2 separate regions of the Homo sapiens genome follow, and region 1 is linked to region 2. The links are contacts of gene promoters, found by promoter capture Hi-C in human tissues and cell types (Jung and others, 2019). All regions are on one chromosome and are shown on one strand. Each heading gives the region's core, a stretch centred on a gene start or on the middle of the fragment in contact. The rest is flanking DNA. Distances are from core to core; before and after follow the strand shown.

Region 1 (6,928 bases), core at 4,429-6,928, 200 kb before region 2:
GCTGGTCCCGGTCCGTCCATGGGCGGACTCAGACTGTTCATGAGTGCTCACCTGGTAGAGGAAAGACCCTGAACGTCCAGACCTTCCTGCTGACCGGCCACGTGTGGACTCTTGGTGGCTCTGCTGATGGGGCCCAGCCTGTCCGTGGGCTGACACTGACTGTGTGTCTGAGTCTTCTGAATGTCCCTCACTGTCACTGGCCTGACTACCACTGGACCCTCGGTGTCCACTGTCTCTGACTGCAGATGAAGCTTGTCCGTGCCCAATGCCTGAGTGTCTGGAGCTGTCTGCTGACTGCTGGTGGTGGGATCCGTGTCTCTCTCCTGCACTTGATCTTGCCTGTTCATGGGATGATGCAGCCTGTCCACCAGAGGAATTCTCTGCATGATGAGTGCCTGATTGTCTGGAGCTCTCTGCAGAGTGCCCATGACCGGCTCTGTCTTCGTGATGGGACCTGGGGTGTCTGGAGCCATCTCTTGACTGCTCCTGAGCAGATCCATGATGGTTTCTGGACGCAGACCCAGACCGCCTCTCAGAATCTTCTGAGTGTCCCTCACTGTCACTGTCCTGGCTAACACTGGATCCCCGGGGCCTGCTTGTCCTGGGCCCTGATGATTGTCCCTGGCCCACCAGTGAGTGTCTAGAGCTGTCGGCCCAAGAGGAAGCTTCATGATGATGCGACCCTGAGTGCCTAGAGCCATCTCCTGATTGTTCCTTGTCATATGTTTTTCTGCTTGCACTTCTGGATCCTGACTGCCCACGGGAGGCATCAGACCTTCCCTGGGATGTGGTGTGGCTGTGATGAGACCCTGAGTGTCCAGACCTATCTACCGATTGCTCTTGGTGGGACCCCTGTCTTCCTCCTCTGCTTGGCCCCGGGTGTCCACGAATGGTGTCCTGACCCTCTTGGGATGCTGAGTGCCTGGAGCTGTCTTGTGCCTGATCATAATGGGATCCTTGTCTTCCTCCAGTGCTGGGCGCAGACTGTCCATGGGTGGACTCAGACTGTTCATGAGTGCTCACCTGGTAGAGGAAAGACCCTGAACGTCCAGAGCTTTCCCCTGACTGGCCACGTGCGGACTCTTTGTGGCTCTGCTGATGGGGCCCAGCTTTTCCCTGTGCTGACACTGACTGTGTGTCTGAGTCTTCTGAATGTCCCTCACTGTCACTGGCCTGACTACCACTGTACCCTCGGTGTCCACTGTCTCTGACTGCAGATGAAGCTTGTCCATGCCCAATGCCTGAGTGTCTGGAGCTGTCTGCTGACTGGAGCTGGTGGTGGGATCCATGTCTTTCTCCTGCACTTGATCTTGCCTGTTCATGGGATGACGCAGCCTGTCCACGAGAGGAAGACTCTGTGTGACGAGTGCCTGATTGTCTGGAGCTGTCTGCAGAGTGCCCGTGACCGGCTCTGTCTTCGTGATGGGACCCAGGGTGTCTGGAGCCATCTCTTGACTGCTCCCAAGCAGATCCAAGATGGTTTCTGGAAGCAGACCCAGACCACCTCTCAGAGTCTTCTGAGTGTCCCTGACTGTCACTGTCCTGGCTAACACTGGATCCCTGGTTCCTGCTTGTCCTGGGCCCTGATGATTGTCCCTGGCCCACCTGCGAGTGTCTAGAGCTGTCGGCCCGAGAGGAAGCTTCATGGTGACGCGACCCTGAGTGCCTGGAGCCGTCTCCTGATTGTTTCTCATTACGTGTTTGTCTGCTGACACTTCTGGATCCTGACTGCCCACGGGAGACATCAGACCTTTCCTGGGACGTGGTGTGGCTGTGATGAGACCCTGAGTGTCCAGAACTATCTACCGATTGCTCATAGTGGGATCCCTGCCTTCCTCCTCTGCTTGACCCTGGGTGTCCACGAATGGTGTCCTGACCCTCTTGGGACGCTGAGTGCCTGGAGCTGTCTCGTGCCTGCTCGTGGCGGGATCTTTGTCTTCCTCCAGTGCTGGGCCCTGTGCGTCCATGGGCGGACTCAGACTGTTCATGAGTGCTCACCTGGTAGAGGAAAGACCCTGAACGTCCAGACCTTTCCCCTGACTGGCCACGTGTGGACTCTTGGTGGCTCTGCTGATGGGGCCCAGCCTGTCCGTGGGCTGACACTGACTGTGTGTCTGACTCTTCTGAGTGTCCCTCGCTGTCACTGGCCTGGCTACCACTGGACCCTCGGTTTCCACTGTCTCCGACTACAGATGAATCTTGTCTGCGCCCAGTGCCTGAGTCTGTGGAGCTGTCTGCTGACTGCTGGTGGCGGGATCCATGTCTTTCTCCTGGACTTGACCTTGCCTGTTCCTGGGATGATGCAGCCTGTCCACCAGAGGAAGTCTCTGCATGACGAGTGCCTGATTGTCTGGAGCTCTCTGCAGAGTGCCCATGACTGGCTCTATCTTCTTGATGGGACCTGGGGTTCCTGGAGCCATGTCTTGACTGCTCCCGAGCAGATCCATAATGGTTTCTGGAAGCCGACTCAGACCGCCTCTCAGAGTCTTCTGAGTGTCCCTCACTGTCCCTGTCCTGACTAACACTGGATCCCTGGCGCCTGCTTGTCTTGGACCCCGCTGATTCTCCCTGGCCCACCTGTGAGTGTCTAGAGCTGCCGGCCCGAGTGGAAGGTTCATGGTGACGTGACCCTGAGTGCCTGGAGCCGTCTCCTGATTGTTCCTCATTTCTTGTTTGCCTGCTTGCACTTCTGGGTCCTGACTGCCCATGGGAGGCATCAGACCTTCCCTGGGGTGTGGTGTGGCTGTGATGGTACCCTGAGTGTCCAGACCTATCTACTGATTGCTCGTGGTAGGATCCCTGCCTTCCTCCTCTGCTTGACCCCGGGTGTCCACGAATGGTGTCCTGACCGTCTTGGGATGCTGAGTGCCTAGAGCTGTTTCGTGCCTGCTCATGGCGGGATCCTTGTCTTCCTCCAGTGCTGGGTGCAGTCTGTCCGTGTGTGGACTCAGACTGTTCATGAGAGCTCACCTGGTAGAGGAAAGACCTTGAACGTCCAGAGCTTTCCCCTGACTGGCCACGTGCGGACTCTTTGTGGCTCTGCTGATGGGGCCCAGCTTGTCCGTGGGCTGACACTGACTGTGTGTCTGAGTCTTCTGAATGTCCCTCACTGTTAGTGACCTGACTACCACTGGACCCTCGGTGTCCACTGTCTCTGACTGCAGATGAAGCTTGTCTGTGCCCAATGCCTGAGTGTCTGGAGCTGTCTGCTGACTGCTGGTGGCGGGATCCATGTCTTTCTCCTGGACTTGATCTTGCCTGTTCATGGGATGACACAGCCTGTCCATGAGAGGAAGACTCTGTGTGATGAGTGCCTGATTGTCTGGAGCTGTCTGCAGAGTGCCCGTGACTGGCTCTGTCTTCTTGATGGAACCCAGGGTGTCTGGAGCCATCTCTTGACTGCTCCCGAGAAGATCCATGATGGTTTCTGGAAGCAGACCCAGACAACCTCTCGGAGTCGTCTGAGTGTCTCTCACTGTCACTGTCCTGGCTAACACTGGATCCCTGGTGCCTGCTTGTCCTGGACCCCGATGATTGTTCCTGTCCCACCTGTGAGTGTCTAGAGCTGTCAGCCCAAGAGGCAGCTTCATGGTGACGTGACCCTGAGTGCCTGGAGCCGTCTCCTGATTGTTTGTCCTTACGAGTTTGTCTGCTTGCACTTCTGGATCCTGACTGCCCATGGGAGGCATCAGACCTTCCCTGGGATGTGGTGTGGCTGTGATGGGACCCTGAGTGTCCAGATCTATCTACCGATTGCTCATGGTGGGATCCCTGCCTTCCTCCTCTCCTTGACCCCGGGTGTGCACGAATGGTGTCCTGACCCTCTTGGGACGCTGAGTGCCTGGAGCTGTCTCGTGCCTGCTCGTGGTGGGATCCTTGTCTTCGTCCAGTGCTGGTCCTGGTCCGCCCATGGGCAGACTCAGACTGTTCATGAGTGCTCACCTGGTAGATGAAAGACCCTGAACGTCCAGACCTTCCCCCTGACCAGTCACGTGCGGACTCTTGGTGGCTCTGCTGATGGGGCCCATCCTGTCCATGGCCTGACACTGACTGTGTGTCTGACTCCTCTGAATGTCCCTCACTATCACTGGCCTGACTACCACTGGACCCCCAGTGTCCACTGTCTCTGACTGCAGATGAAGCTTGTCTGCGCGGAATGCCTGAGTGTCTGGAGCTGTCTGCTGACTGCTGGTGGCGGGATCCGTGTCTTTCTCCTGGACTTGATCTTGCCTGTTCATGGGATGACGCAGCCTGTCCACCAGAGGAAGTCTCTGCGTGAGGAGTTCCTGATTGTCTGGAGCTGTCTGCAGAGTGCCCGTGACCGGCTCTGTCTTCGTGATGGGACCTGGGGTGTCTGGAGCCATGTCTTGACTGCTCCTGAGCAGATCCACGATGGTTTCTGGAAGCAGACCCAGACCACCTCTCAGAGTCTTCTGAATGTCCCTCACTGTCACTGTCCTGGCTAACACTGGATCCCTGGCGCCTGCTTGTCCTGGACCCCTCTGATTGTCCCTGGCCTGCCTGTGAGTGTCTAGAGATGTCGGCATGAGAGGAAGCTTCATGGTGACGTGACCCTGAGTGCCTGGAGCCGTCTCTTGATTGTTCCTCATTACGTGTTGTTCTGCTTGCACTTCTGGATCCTGACTGCCCACGGGAGGCATCAGACCTTCCCTGGGATGTGGTGTGGCTGTGATGGGACCCTGAGTGTCCAGACCTATCTACCGATTGCTCGTGGTGGGACCCCTGCCTTCCTCTTCTGCTTGACCCCGGGTGTCCACGAATGGTGTCCTGACCATCTTGGGATGCTGAGTGCCTGGAGTTGTCTCGTGCCTGCTCATGGTGGGATCCTTGTCTTACTCCAGTGCTGGGCCCTGTCCATCCATGGGAGGACTCAGACTGTTTATGAGTGCTCACCTGGTAGAGGAAAGACCCTGAACGTCGAGACCTTTCCCCTGACCGGTCACGTGCGGACTCTTGGTGGCTCTGCTGATGGTGACCAGCCTGTCCATGGCCTGACACTGACTGTGTGTCTGAGTCTTCTGAATGTCCCTCACTGTCAGTGGCCTGACTACCACTGGACCCTCGGTGTCCACTGTCTCTGACTGCAGATGAAGCTTGTCCGTGCCCAGTGCCTGAGTGTCTGGAGCTGTCTGCTGACTGGAGCTGGTGGCGGGATCCATGTCTTTCTCCTGCACTTGATCTTGCCTGTTCATGGGATGACGCAGCCTGTCCACTAGAGGAATTCTGTGTGTGACGAGTGCCTGATTTTCTGGAGCTGTCTGCAGAGTGCCCATGACCAGCTCTGTCTTCGTGATGGGACCTGGGGTGTCTGGAGCCATCTCTTGACTGCTCCTGAGCAGATCCATGATGGTTTCTGGAAGCAGACCCAGACCACCTCTCAGAGTCTTCTGAGTGTCCCTGACTGTCACTGTCCTGGCTAACACTGGATCCCTGGTTCCTACTTGTCCTGGGCCCCGATGATTGTCCCTGGCCCACCTGTGAGTGTCTAGAGCTGTCAGCCTGAGAGGAAGCTTCATGATGACGTGACCCTGAGTGCCTGGTGCCGTCTCCTGATTGTTCCTCATTTCGTGTTTGTCTGCTTGCACTTCTGGATCCTGACTGCCCATGGGAGGCATCAGACCTTCCCTGGGATGTGGTGTGGCTGTGATGGGAACCTGAGTGTCCAGACCTATTTACCGATTGCTCGTGGTGGGATCCCTGCCTTCCTCCTCTGCTTGACCCCGGGTGTCCACGAATGGTGTCCTGACCCTCTTGGGACGCTGAATGCCTGGAGCTGTCTCGTGCCTGCTCGTGGTGCGATCCTTGTCTTCCTCCAGTGCTGGTCCCGGTCCGTCCATGGGCAGAGTCAGGCTGTTCATGAGTGCTCACCTGGTAGAGGGAAGACCCTGAACGTCCAGACCGTTCCCCTGACCGGCCACGTGTGGACTCTTGGTGGCTCTGCTGTCTCAGCCCAGCCTTTCCGTGGCCTGACACTGATTGTGTGTCTGAGTTTTCTGAATGTCCCTCACTGTCACTGGCCTGACTACCGCTAGACCCCCGGTGTCCACGATCGCTGACTGCAGATGAAGCTTGCCCGCGCCCAGTGGCTGAGTGTCTGGAGCTGTCTGCTGACTGCTGGTGGCCGGATCCATGTCTTTCTCCTGGACTTGATCTTGCCTGTTCATGGGATGATGCAGTCTGTCCACGAGAGGAAGTCTCTGCGTGACGAGTGCCTGATTGTCTGGAGCTGTCTGCAGAGTGCCCATGACTGGCTCTGTCTTCATCATGGGACCTGGGGTGTCTGGAGCCATCTCTTGACTGCTCCCACGCAGATCCATGATGGTTTCTGGAAGCCGACCCAGAGTGCCTCTCAGAGTCTTCTGAGTGTCCCTCACTGTCCCTGTCCTGGCTAACTCTGGATCCCCTACGCTTTCTTGTCCTGGACTCCTGCAATGGTACCTGGCTTGTATTTTCATGTCTTGACCTGTTCACTTGAGATGATGATTTGCCATCAGATGACCTTGATCTTTCATATATTTTGTTTTCTTCTAATAGACTATCAGTGGTGTCATAGGCTTCATCCTGGATTGTGTAATATGTGGCAATATGGCCTGATTGTATCCATTTTTGAGTCATTCTTCCTGTATTTTCATAATCATATACTCCTTCTTCATTGTCTTCTTTCTCTTCAAGTCTTTCACTTAGCCTCTTCCTATTGTCTCCTAATCTAGTATTTTCAGTCTTGTTTTTCTCTTTTTTACTTGAGTTATGATGGTTTTTTCCATATTCTTCTTCTCTATGAGTAGGTGAATATCCTTTTCTTTCTTTTTTTTCAGAACTAGATTCATGCCTTTTCCCCCCTGTTTCTCTTGGGCTCTTGGATCTTCCCTTATTCCCTTTTCTATTGTTTCTTCTTTCCAGACTTGAG
Region 2 (7,709 bases), core at 1,161-3,660:
TTTCTGGCCTGGCTTTCCCTCTCAGACATAGCTCTTTGGAGAACTAGGTGTTGTAATTCAGTTATGAAGCTATTTTCTCTGTAACAATAAAGCTTTTTATTCCTGATATCACTGCCTCCTGATTTCATTGTTTGCCTCTCCCACTCCCTACCTGCTGCATCAAGCCATCTTCCCTTCCCTTCTCTTAAATGCAAGCGAACACTTTACAAACTTGTTTAGGAAGCACATTTTGGCAGTGAAGCTACTTAGGCCTCTGGAAAACAATATTTCCTTCTATGCACTGGATTCTGGAACTTTAAGCTTGAAGGAAAGAATAATGTCTGAGACCATTACGCCAGACACAAGATTGTATGAGGAGAGCCAGGAATGGGTTTGAAGAGAAGAGGATGGTTGTACTCAAAAGGTTCAGGTTCTGAGAGGGTTTCCTTCAAGCATGGGTCACAGTTTGAAAAATTGCTTGTCCCCATTCATGGGGAATAAGATTGCCTGAAGTGCTCATCCTGGGCTCTAATAAATGGACACTCTTTACTTTTCTGATTATTATAAGCTCAGGTGTTTCCATCAGTTGGCTAGAGGGAGAGCTGGGTGGGCAGTGAGTGAGTTTTGGAGGCAGATATGAAACGTCTGAGCACATTTTCCCTGCATGCTGAAATCCTGGATTTGAATCTGGGTAAAGAACTGAGAAAGACACCCTTCTTTGCAAAGACTGTCTCTATGTGGTTGGGACGTACGTGTGTGTGTGTGTGTGTGTGTGTGTGTGTGTGTGTGCAGTGAGAGGTATAAGAGTACAGGGGTTTTGGTCCCTGTGTTGGGTTTTCCAAGCAACATTTCTTTAGGAATGGGCTGGTTCCTTCAGGAGACACTCATAATGTACCTAGAAAAGATAACTAGAAAAGTTAATTCCAAATCAGCCTTTAATATAAAAGATAAACAATTGATGCCTCCTTTGATAAGAGTTAATAGCGATAAATAAAGTAAGCTGGTTTATGAGATCATAGGATGCCCACAGAATGAGTAGGCACTTGCCCAGATTATCTCCTTATACTGATTCCTACCAAACGTTCTTCATTCTTTTTTTTTTTTTTTAAAAGAACTTTGCCCATTTTCCCAGAGGAGATCCTGCCTCTGTCTTGTTATTTCATTACTTCCTTCTCTGTTCTAATATTGACTTTACTTTTTGGAATGTCTCACCTATACTCACCAACAGGTGCTCTAGGAACTGGCAACCTGTTAATCAGGCTCTAAATCCATGTTAAATGAAACTGGTATCTTTTGTGACTTATCTTTCCTCGCCTAGTCCCTTGAGCCACTCCCAGCTCACTCGCCCCCAAACCTGTCTCTCATCCTTAATTCCTGAATTCTTAGTCTTGGACTTCTGTTATAGTTCACATTCACAGTTGTGGGCAATTTGATTAAGAAGCAGTTCTGAAGTTGACTGCCAAAGTATCCTCCAATTCTTAAAAATTAGTTATTCTGAAAACACTATCTATCATGAACACTTTGGACCTTTGGAAAGAACTTTCTTTCTTTCTTTCTCTTTTTTTTCTTCTTTCCCTCCCTCCCTTCTTCCTTTCCCATTTTCTTTTGCACTGGGCAGTGGCCCTAGGGAGAACTTATCTTCAAAGGCAGATTGGTGGTTGGGGGTGGGATAAGAAGCAGGAGTCCCACAGGCTGACTAGCCTTTTTGCAATTGGGCCACTGTCCTGCACACATTTTTCTCTTTGTCATACCATGCTGTATTATGGGGATATGGCAACCTGACTACATTCACAACTTTTCTGGTCTTATGGTTCCTTAACTTTGCCTAGGTTTTTCTTCCTGTCTCCAGTGACAGAGAGAAATCACCCCTGGGGTTCCCAAAGGTGCATCCCCGTCATCATCTTCACTCACTGCATCTTGAAGCATATGGATGAAACCCAGCAGGCTTATCGCATAGCTTGTGGTCTGCCCTGGGGAGCCAAGGACCAAGAGCCAGAGAGATGAGAATCAAGATAAAAATAGGTGAACTACCACCTACCAAGTAGATGACTACATAGGAATGGATGTGTGGGCAAGTGGAGCCGTCTGTGTGTGTGTGTGTGTGTGTGTGTGTGTGTGTGTGTGTGTGTATTGAAGACAAGGGCAGGGGTTCCAGACCTCCCTGCATTTGAGCCCCATGCCCTCTCTTAGCATACACACAGCCTCCCAGGTACAAACAGTGCCCTGTTTGGAAAGTAAACATGCCATAGCAATCCTGGCACCTCTGTGAAGTGACTTAGATGCCCACATGCACCACCTACAATGCTACCTGAGTGATGAATGTCTCTGGGATGTGAGTGTCAGCTGAGCACGTCTGTTGGGAAATGGGCCCCTCCCAAGAGCCTGAACCTGAATACTTCTTATAAAAAGGTTCTCTGGCTGGACGCTGCTCAATCCACTGCCTAGCAGGTGGCCCATTCCAGTTGGAGAACGTAGTGAGTCTTTCAGTGGAGCCAGGGTCTGGTAAGTCTCCTAGCAGGGTCTGGGGGAGAGGGTGGGATGAGTTGAGGGCACAGGGGAGGAGCAAACAGAACACAGGCAGCAGATAGATGTGGAAGGGGTGTCCCGCAAGGCACCTACGCTTCTAGTGAGCCAACCTCTTAAGGTACTAATGAGGACATAAAGGCAACATAGGAGGTGGTTTTTGCAAGGGTACACAGCAAGTCCGCAGAAGAGCTGTGACTAGAACCCAGGTCTTTCAGCTCCCTGGATGGGGTTATTTATATTGGCACAACTCTCCTTTCCCACATGGTTGTGGGGCATGAGAGGCGTAGGCAAGAAAGAATGATCAGGACATGCTTCTGGCCTGTGGATTATTTAGACCCAGCAGGTGGGACCGCCTGTTGGACTTGGGTGTTTTCTAACTGATGGGGGTGTAGTAACTAGGAAGATACAGTCGAAGGTCGGTAGGAAAGTAAAATGAGGGACAAGAAAAAAGCCAAGTGGAGATTTTGGACTGGATCATACAGATAAGTTGCCGCAGTGTGCTGTTTATTTTCCACTGTGGAGAACTTGAGCAGTCTTCTTCTAGTCAGAGAAAATGGAAATGCATTGATTCATTGCATGGATTGTGTCCTGCTCTGAGCATGTTTAACTCACTGGAAACACCTGCTTGGATTTGCTTCTTTGCGTCCGCTCTTTCTGGGTGCTTTTCCCTCCTTGTCCCAGGCCAGGCTGACTTGTACACTAAGCCGAATCTCAAAAGCCCAGACAGAGTTCCATTGGTGGAAAGAAAAAGCCGGCTCGCCTTTGAAAGGCTGCCTTTCTTCCAGGTTTGTCGTGAGGAGCTCCGCGATGTCCTCTCAACAGAGCGCCGTTTCCGCCAAAGGCTTTTCCAAGGGGTCGTCCCAGGGCCCCGCTCCGTGTCCCGCCCCGGCGCCCACCCCGGCGCCCGCCTCCTCCTCCTCCTGCTGCGGCTCCGGCAGGGGCTGCTGCGGCGACTCAGGCTGCTGCGGCTCCAGCTCCACCAGTTGCTGCTGCTTCCCAAGGAGACGCCGCCGACAGCGGAGTAGTGGTTGCTGCTGCTGCGGGGGCGGCAGCCAGAGGTCCCAGCGCTCCAACAACCGGAGCTCAGGATGCTGCTCCGGCTGCTGAGAGGCCCGCAACCCCCAGCGCTGCGCTAGAGAAACCCGCCCAGCCCAGAGCGGGCCCGCCCCGCTGCGGCTCCCACGCGGGGCTGGGCCTCGGAGTTTGCCCCGTAAAGCGAATTGCACTTTGATGTTCAGAAACCCACTTTGTTCTCAGCCACGCAAAACTCCCTGACCCCGATGTGATTTTTCTCCCCGGGGATTCGAGAGCCATGCGTGGGACACTGGACCCTACTGTCTACACGGGCTTGCACACAGCAGGTGCTCAGCAAATGTCTATTGATTTGATTGTCTTTTGAAGATGTCATAATAAAGCTTCTACCTCCTGAGAACACCTTTTATTTGTTCTTCATTCGTTTCTCCACCCAGGTAGAAAGGCTTGAAATGTTTGTGAAAGGCAGAATACTATAATTCATGCCTGAACAAGAAGGTGGCTTTCTGATAGTTAATTATGATAGCAGCGATCACATATCGACTGTTTCGAGTATTTTAAGGATTTTATGCGACAAAGTCCTTGAATATTCTCAGGACTTTATGTGGCACAATCTGATTCTCATAATGACTTGCGTAGGAGAGTGCAATTATACCCATTTTACAGAAGAGAAACTGAGGTTAAGTAATTTGTTCAAAGTCACCCAGCTGGCGCATGATAAAGAAGACAGGACATCTGATTCAAGGGCTTCATTGCTCTGCTGAGTTCTCACCTGGGCTTCCCAAGCCTTACCACTGAGGTGCTCCTCCCGACCACCAGGTCCAGGCAGCTGTGTGGTAAAAGTTTGTTTTGGCAACTCTTTGGGGCTTTGGAATCAAGCCAGCTGTCTTCTTTTTTTTTTTTTTTAGTTTTATGTCTTATTTTATTTTTTATTTTTGGCATGGAAGTTCATTGACCTACTGCTTTGCTTGCTGGGGAGGAAATTTTTCCTAAGATGAGCCTTCCAGGAAACTGGGAGCTGCCCTCTCCAGGTCTCATTTGTGCAGCTGAAGCAGGACCAACAGCCATGGGTTTCTGGGAGTCTCTGTGGTGCAGCATGTGTGCTCGGAAACATGGGGATCTCATTCTTTAGAGATGGTGGCTGTGGCAGTGGCAATGGATGGGTCATCTTGCATAGGTCAGAAACCTATCCCTGTGGGCACAGATTTTATCCACTCATTTCAGGCACGAGGAAACAGGAGAACAATATCCTCTGCATGGTGTCTGCTGGGTTCAGAAGGAAGAGATAATCATGGTAATAATAATAGTAACACTAGTTACCATTTATTTGGCACTATATTTCAGGCACAAGTCAAGGCACTTTACCTATATTATCTCACTTAATCCTCACAGTAATCTAAAAATATAGACATTCACTTCCCCACTTTTTATACGTGAGCACATGGGTTTAGACAGTTCCAGTGGTTTGGCTGAAATCACAGAGCTAGTGAATGTCCCCTTGAGTGAGGGAGATGAGATTGAAACTGGAACCTGTGTGACTCCAAAGTCATGCCCTCACACTCAAAGAGTCATGCTCTACTGTCTTAGAAATCACCACCACACAGGGAAGAGACACTCGGGTCTCTGGACACACCCAGGCTCTCAGAAAATTGCAGCTCGGCTTCTTGGCTGCTGCTCCCTTGGTGACCCAATGAGTGGGGAGCTCTGTCATGGCATCCACCCAGCAGCTGGCGGCTGAGGGTGTCTGCTCAAAGGTGAGGTCGGAAATGCTCTACTGATTCATCCAGGATGTTTGACCTTGCGGCCAAATGACCCCTTGCCAGGGAGGCTCTGGAGGGCAGTCCTGCTCTGCCTGGGAGTGGCCCTTCCTTCCATGTCTGAGATTCTGTGATTTCCAGTGGGAGGTGATTTGTGGAAGCTGTTTACAAACAGATGATATCACCCGTGGACCTGCCTCCCCACACTAGTAATGTGTGCTGAAACAGCAAGCCCTGGGACTTGGTGGGCAGTGGGTGGGAAGGAAGAACTGCCTGACTCAGAACAGACACACTACGCAGCTAATCTGAGGGTGAGGGCTCAACCTGGAGCAGGAAGCTGAGGCCTGAGCTCTGGGAAAGAGAGGTGGTGACTCACGGAGAGATATTAGAGTCCAAATAGGAGCACATGCCCTGTACACCAGGCATTTGGGTCTCATGTCAAATGGCTGGCCCTGATGGTGGTGGTACCTCCAGGCCCACATGCTGCTGAAACCCAGCAGGTCAGCACACATGGACTTTGATGAGAGACATTTGAGTATTTTAAGAATAGTTTCATTTTAGAAATCTAGCAAGCGACTTTGGAAGGTCTAGAGCTCTCTGCTCATGGTCCTTCAGGCTTTTCTGATTTCCAGCAGTAGGTAAAGCTGTATGTGTGGCCCAGGCACTCTCTGTGAGGTGATGGTGGTGGATGCTGAGCCTGTGGGAAATTTGGCAAAGTGAAGTCCTACTCAGAGGTTGTCACCTGGTACACGTGACAGGCAGAATCAGGTTTCGTATTATCTCTGGAATAAATGGACATTATTGTTAAATATATTTTATTCATGATGGCTCCAATTTCAGCTTAAATTATATTATTATACTGGTAATAATAACAACTGATACTTATGTAGCATTTAGTGTTTATGAGGCGTTTCCACATATATTATCTCTTTCATAATTCTGTAACATAAGTATTACCATCTCTGTTTAACAGATCAGGGAGGGACTCCTACAGTTTAAACAACCCACCTGAGGTTATCCAGCTGATACGTGTGGTCTCTGTCTGGACCAGGCCTTCTAATGCCCTCTAAGAAGGCCAACAGCCACTTCTGAATATTCACTGAAATAATTGAATAATGGCACCCAGTTGATTACTTAGAGACAGTGCTGTATTCACTATTGCATCCCTAGTATCATGCCAGGTACATATTAAAGGTCTATAAATAAATGATTGTTTATTAGTGCATAATGTGTAAGGCATTGTGCTAAAGAATTCCACAGAGATATACAAAGCATTTCTGGACCTCAAGGAGTTTATAGTCTGATTCAGAAACTATGGTAAATAAAAATACAAGATATAAATGATAACTCAGATCTGAAATGCAAAAAATGTCACAAGCAGAACATGGCATAGGCAACTGCTCTAGGGATTCAACTGAGTTTAGATGAGGCATTGTGATACGACTTTGAATGAGGGCAAGTTACTGTGGACTGGATTATTTATAAGCCTTCATGGGAGGAAGGATCTGGGCTGGGTGTGAAGGATGGAAACACATCAGACGGGCAGAGATTCATTCATTTATGTATCTGTTCAACTCCATCAGACACTGTTTATGGTTCTGGGACAGAACCAGAAATAAGACCAAGGCCCTGCTGGCATGGACCTCAATTTCTGGAGTGAAGACAGACAAGAAAGTGAGCAAGGAAGTCAGATTATTTCACACCGTGAAAAGTGTTGTGATGAAAACAAAGAAAATAAAGGTATAAACATTAACTAGAGGTGTATGGGGATTTTAGATGGAGCTAGGCCAGGCCTCTCTGAAGACATGTTATTTGAGCAGGAGAAATAGGAGTTATGACACAGAGCAGGGAAGCCCATGGTTACAGGGTTCCTGCATCCATGGCAGCCTAGGGCTGCAGGTGTTTGAGGTGTGTTTTCAGTTATGTTGCCTCCACCAGACAGTTTCACTACTAGGAAAGTAACTTGGAATTCCAGTTTCTTGGCAGACAGATTTGCTAGTGTGATTGATCGTGTGCCATGAGGTTGGCATTATTTCATTGGATCCTCACAACTCTCCTACAAGACAAGTTTTCCCCACATTTTGTTAAGAAAACTGAAAGATAGAGCTGTTAGGTAGCCATCCTAGGATTTCCCAGCTTGTAATAGGAAGAACAAGGTTTTGTACTGGAGACATTTTCCTCTGAAGTCAATGTTCTGAACATTGTGCTACAGTCTGCATTTCTGGGAAAGAGGGGAGTAGTCTCAAGCTTGGACTAGGGGAGGAGAAAGGGGTCTCAAGGGAGTGGTGTTGATATTGAAAGACCCTGAGGACACATCTTCAGAGAAGGAGATAGGAGGCCAGATCATGGATGGTTTGGAGTGCCAAATCAAGGAGTTTCAACTATCTCATATTTGTGGAGTATGGTGGTAGGAAA

The links. The method cuts DNA at HindIII sites, captures the fragments that hold promoters and counts their contacts. A contact is called where the count stands out against the background at its distance.
Region 1: a contact is called between a fragment that was not itself captured here and the fragment with the promoter of CRCT1 in region 2, in 2 of the 25 tissues and cell types used here (aorta and bladder).

What each region holds. Positions count from the first base shown.
Region 1 is chr1:152,307,584-152,314,511 of GRCh38, forward strand. It overlaps FLG (filaggrin), which reads right to left. Exons shown (of 3, transcript NM_002016.2): 3 at 1-6,928. The region is part of intron 3 of CCDST (cervical cancer associated DHX9 suppressive transcript); the gene reads left to right. Among named protein-coding and RNA genes, the nearest start is that of FLG, 14 kb to the right of the region's middle. The HindIII fragment of the contact is 4,044 bases long and covers 3,657-6,928 here.
Region 2 is chr1:152,512,072-152,519,780 of GRCh38, forward strand. CRCT1 (cysteine rich C-terminal 1) reads left to right here and starts at 2,411. Exons shown (of 2, transcript NM_019060.3): 1 at 2,411-2,481; 2 at 3,291-3,937. The coding sequence starts at 3,313. The coding sequence ends at 3,612. LCE5A (late cornified envelope 5A) reads left to right here. Exons shown (of 2, transcript NM_178438.5): 2 at 1-106. The HindIII fragment of the contact is 6,327 bases long and covers 1-5,730 here.